2 separate regions of the Homo sapiens genome follow, and region 1 is linked to region 2. Evidence: promoter capture Hi-C in 16 types of primary human blood cells and fetal thymus (Javierre and others, 2016). All regions are on one chromosome and are shown on one strand. The core of a region is centred on a gene start or on the middle of the fragment in contact, and the rest is flanking DNA. Distances in the headings are between cores, read along the strand shown.

Evidence for each region. The method cuts DNA at HindIII sites, captures the fragments that hold promoters and counts their contacts. A CHiCAGO score of 5 or more calls a contact.
Region 1: a fragment that was not itself captured here is called in contact with the fragment with the promoter of NEK10 in region 2 in 11 of 17 cell types (total CD8 T cells, M0 macrophages, M2 macrophages and 8 more); the score reaches 10.1 in total CD8 T cells.

What each region holds. Positions count from the first base shown.
Region 1 is chr3:27,706,721-27,709,420 of GRCh38, reverse strand. It overlaps the pseudogene KIAA1143P2. Among named protein-coding and RNA genes, the nearest start is that of LINC02084, 4.8 kb to the left of the region's middle. The HindIII fragment of the contact is 249 bases long and covers 1,302-1,550 here.
Region 2 is chr3:27,367,836-27,370,653 of GRCh38, reverse strand. NEK10 (NIMA related kinase 10) reads left to right here and starts at 1,271. Exons shown (of 36, transcript NM_001394966.1): 1 at 1,271-1,429. RefSeq lists an enhancer at 1,513-2,013. The HindIII fragment of the contact is 2,054 bases long and covers 1,064-2,818 here.

The DNA.
Region 1 (2,700 bases), core at 177-2,676, 340 kb before region 2:
CCTCTTGAGTAGCTAGAACTACAGGTGCACACCACTATGCCTGGCTAATTAAAAAAAGTTTTTTTGTAGAGATGGATTCTCACTATGTTGTCCAGGCTGATCTTGCAATTCAGGGCTCAAAATCCTCCCACTTCAGCCTCCCAAAGCACTGAGATTATAGGCATGAGCCACCACACTCAGCCTTTTTTTAAGCCTATCATGGAGTGGTGCCTTCTTCATTGCACACTTTGGCCTATATAGCTTTGGGGTAGTGAATCCACAGAATATATGTTCTTCACCCTACATATTTGCTGGTTTTCTTAATCTTGGCAGGCAAATTTTGTCTTTATCTTACAGATCTAAAACCCAAGAATGATCTTTGGTATTTTACTTCTTTCAGGATTCAAGTTCCTCTGGTAAAAAGGCTTGTTGTTGATATAATTAACCAATAGTCTGTGCTCATCACTAAATATTTAGAAGACCACAGACACAGACTACATAGCTGTTATAGAAGAGCACAGAGAAGCATGAGTTAAGTTAGTGTGCAAAAATGTGTATACATGCTTGTATGTAGGAGTGTGTATTTGTGCCCCAGAGCTAATAACATTAAGCTGAGATTACAGAGTGTAGAATACAACTTGGAGAAAATGGTTAAGATGGTATCTAATATTTCCATTAGGGACTTTTCTGTTCAGAGCTGTCAAAACAGATTCTGTGAATTGACTAGACTATGGAAGGTGATCATAATGATATTGATGAAACACATAACTGAAAAACAGAATTTAAATAGAAGAGAGTCTCTAGAAATACAACTAAATCTTAATCTGGAGATACATGCCTCAAAATAACTCTCTCCCATTCCTTTTTCCCTCTCAACAAAAACAAACTCACTGGAAAAGGACAATCAAACATTTCCAAGCCTTGCAATGCCCTATTTCCCATCGGAGTTTCGGGAAAAAAAAATGTATGAGTCACATTCTTAACCTGGCAATAAGGTCCACGAGGTATTTGGTTTCTCTGTGTTTGCCAGCTTTCTTGTACATAGGCGAGGTTGCCAGATCCAAAGAGAGAGTAGTGTGGATAAGACCATTTGACAAAGGCTGCAGCTTTAGGAAGAACTTGACCAACCTTTAGTAAACCAGCAAGAAGGAGGCCAGACTCTCTCCTTCCACCCTCAAATCCCCTCAGTGCCCCTGTTTGGCTGAACCCAGTGAGAATCCAAAGGGCTAAACAATCTCTTGATGCAGTCATAGAGGTCAGCCTCCTCTATAGAGGAGGCAGGATGGCACAAGGCAGGACAGAAAAGAATGAAGGGTGAAGCTTGGGGGCAATGAAGAAGAAATCCAGCCCACCTATCACCCTCCAATGTCTTGACTGCTAAAGGATACTCTTGAGAGTACTCTTAAGTACTCTCGAGTTGTTTTGAGATTCCCCAAAGAGGATGTTTCAAGAATAGCTGAAAAATTTGGGTTTTTATGTGAAAATCCCCCTACTTTTCAGTTTTGGCACCCTACTTGAAAAAATTAAATAACCAAAATACTCCTGTGAGGAAGATTTCACTACGGAAAGCTTTTGACCACTGATCTAGAGCAATGCTATGATTTTAATTGAATTTCAAAAATGTCAAAAGCATGGCCGGGCGCGGTGGTTCACACCTGTAATCATCCCAGCACTTTGGGAGGCCAAGGCAGGCAGATAGCCTGAAGTTGGGAGTTTGAGACCAGCCTGGGCTATATGGTGAAATCCCGTCTCTACTAAAAATACAAAAATTACCCAGGCACAGTGGCAGGCACCTGTAATCCCAGCTACTTGGGAGGCTGAGGCAGGAAAATCGTTTGAACCTGGGAGATGGAGGTTGCAGTGAGCCGAAATCGTGCCACTGTACTCCAACCTGGACAACAGAGCAAGACTCCTCTGTCTCAAAAAAAAGAAAAAAATGTCAAAAGCAGATTTCTGCTCTAATACAAGATGGAGTAACAGGGATATGAATTAACTTTCTGCTTGAAAAAAAAACTAAACTAAAAATCAGATATATATATATCTGATATATATAACCAGATATATATATATATATATATATATATATATATATATATGGCTTCCATTAGGCAATGTAAAATAGTAATCTATTAAAGAAGAGAAATGAATGAGGAAAACCCTAATATTTCTCCAACTTACTGCCTGGAGAGTTTCCAGGCCTCAGTTTAGCATGGGGATAGGGACCCAGACAAAGCCCAGCAGTCTTCTTGATTTGAGGAGACAAAACTGTAAGGATGAGGAGGCCAAGATGGCTAGAGTTTTTGGAGCAGAGTTCCAGAGAGGAGAGACCTGCCCAGAAAGAAAAATCTAGAGAAGTGAATAGGGTCTTCCTCAACTCCACCTGAGTGTTGATCAGCACACGCATGTGAAGAAAATACCCCAAGCCCACAGGATTAGGCAGGATTTCTCAACCTCAGCTCTATTGACATTTGGAGGCAAAAAATTCTATATTGTGGGAGCTGCATTATAGGATATTTAGCAATATCCTGACTTCTACCAACTAGATGCCAGTAGCACTACCCCACCAGTTGTAACAACAAAAAGTGTCTCTACACATTGTCAAATGACCTCTATGGGGCAAAATTATCCCAGCTGAGAACTACTGGATGAGAGGTATTAATACCCAGTATTTACCCTGACTGAGGATTGTCCCCTTTCCCACTCACGAAAGTGGAAAACTTC
Region 2 (2,818 bases), core at 22-2,521:
TTTTCTACTCAGCATCGGTCTTCCTGCCCCGTCACCTTGTTTTGTTTTATTGGTAACATTAATCCTGATTGTTTTAGATCTCTGAAGTTTAATTAGTTCTGCTATACTCACCAGAGTTTGGCTTTCATCTCGCCTTTCTGCATTTCCAAAATAGGACCGTCTTCATTTTAAAAAATGCTTTCAATTACCCAAGCTTAAGTATTGTTAATCCAATGGGCCTACTTACTATCCACACCAGAAAAACGTTAGGGTTCACTGTATTCATTTAAAATCCAGTTTGGGAAGATGTAACCACCAGACACACACACGAGCGTTTAGTGATACCAAGATGAGGTTGAACAGGGCCCAGTACTCGAAGAAATCGTCGAAGGAGCATCATCGTGGTTAAGACCAGACTCGAAGTAGGTTTTACCCTGACTCCATCACTAGCTCTGCCATACTGGACTACTTAGGAAACTTCTTGTGCCTCCATTTTATAACTAAGTGAAATAAGGAAAGAATTTGAAATCGTGCCCGGCACAAAATTAAGCACTTAATAGATTGGCATTTTTCATTTATTTAAAGTTACAGAATGTCAGGTATATTTTTAAAGCGTTATCTAATGCAGTTCAGAAATTTTAAAGAAGCTCCAGACTTTCACAAAAGGTGAAGTGACTTGCCCAAAGCCACAAAACGAACTGGCGATAGTTATACTATACAGGTTTCTTGAATCCCAGGTCACTCTTTTTGTGAAAAATACGGTGCTGTGGCACCTTATTCTCATTGCCTGTGGCTTGAGTAACTGAAGACGTTTTCATGCCATATGAAAGGTATTTAGCATGCTGCATTGATTCCTTATCAGATTAAATCTTTGCTTTTAAAGAGAATTGATTTTTAGCCCATAGCAATTCTTGAAAGTAAACACTCCAAGATGAAGCTGCCCTTTCCCATCAAAGGTTAGACACCCTAAATCCAGAAAAATCTTCAACGTGTAGGAGACCTGTTCACAGGTAGCTCTAGGTTCCGGTGAAGTGGCTGCAGCACAGCCTTCAGCATCACTTGCTGCCTCTTCTGCTTGCAAGCTTGGTGGTGGATCTAGCGCGTCTCTGGTTGCTACGGCGATTCCCCGGCAGGCGTCATCCGTCGCTATGGCGTTCTGCACTGCGCAGCATGGCTGCTCCCGATTGGCTGAGGCGCCCCAGGTGGCGGAGGAAGAATTGTCGGCATTGGCCTGGCCAGCGCTGGTTGGTGGCCTGGAGGAGGATTTGATTGGAAAACCAACGGTGCAGCTGGCCGCGGTGTCCCTGAGGTTGAGGGGACCGGGAATAGGCTGGGGGGAGGACGGGACGGGCTGAGACTGGACGGGACCCCCGGTCTGCAGCAGCAGGTGACAGCAGCAGGGACAATGATAAGGAGATTGGCCTGAAGGAGGGACCGTCCCTCCCGCGCGGTGAGTAGGCGGGAGCCGGTGCTCGGCTGTGCCGGCGAGCAGCTTGAGTCAGGGTCTCCGGGGAGACGTCCTCAGGTCCCTGTGGAGCGGCCCCGAAGCCTCGGGAGCCAGCTTCACTAGACAAGAGGCAGAGGTAGAGAATGCGGCTGTGGTGGGTAAGTGAGTCACTGCGTGAGGCAGTCTTTTCAAAGCAGGTGGGTTTGTGTTGGACGGATGGATGGTGGGAAAGCGCCATCAACGATGCTTCTTGGCGCTTCCATTTTGATAACGGAATTATTCTGGTTAAATGGAGCCTGAATGTGTCTCTTCCAATCTGCTCCGACGCCTCTGGAGGTTCATTCTTCATCTCTATGAGCGTCGCTTTTCTGCCTTCTCCTTACAGGATGCTGCTTTGACTTTGCCCCTCTGCTTTTCTGCCCTACTTCGGTGAGCCCTTCCACTTCCTCGCCTCAGGCACCATCTATCTGACGATGATTAGAAAGTCTCCAACTGGAACCTAGCCTGCTCTACTAACTGTCAGACCCCAAAATCCAGCTGCCAAGTTAACGCCACACATGTGCAACCCTGAACGCCATCTTCCCCATGTCTGCTGCTGCTCTTGGATTCCCTATTTTGGGCATCACTATCCATTCAGCTTTCAAAAACTACACTCTAGACGACATCCATGACACTTACTGCTGCTTCCTCTGCATCTCTATCAATTATCAAGACTATCCCTTCTTAATAGGTGTTGAATCAATTCCCACATTACCATCTCTATTTTTACTGTCTCAATTTCCACCATCGGTTGGTTAAATTCAACACCCATCTGGCTTCTCCGATTCTAGTCTGGCCCTATCTATCCAATCCACTTTTTTCCCCACCATTGTTGAACTGATATATATATATGTGTATATATATATATATGGAGTCCTTCTAAAAAAGACTCCTTTTTTAGAAGGAGTCTTGCTGTGCTGCCAGGCTGGAGTGCAGTGGAGCGATCTCAGCTCACTGCAGCCTCCGCCTTCCGGGTTCAACCAATTCTCATGCCTCAGCCTCCAGAGAGCTGGGATTACAGGCGCGAGCCACTACGCCTGGCTAATTTTTGTATTTTTAGTAGAGAAGGGGTTTCACCATGTTGGTCAGGCTGGTCTCGAACTCCTGATCTCAGGTGATCCACCCGCCTCAGCCTCCCAAAGTGCTGGAATTACAGGCGTGAGCCACCGTGCCCGGCTAAACTGATCTTTTTAAAACGCACATAAGGGCATTTCCCTTCCCTACTTAAAGTCCTGCAATGATTCCCCATTACCCTAATCCAATCTTTAGTTAGGCCTTCTATCAGCAGTTCCATCTTGATTGTTCCCAGAATATGTCACATTCTCTCCTGTGTGTAATTATCTCACCTGTTGC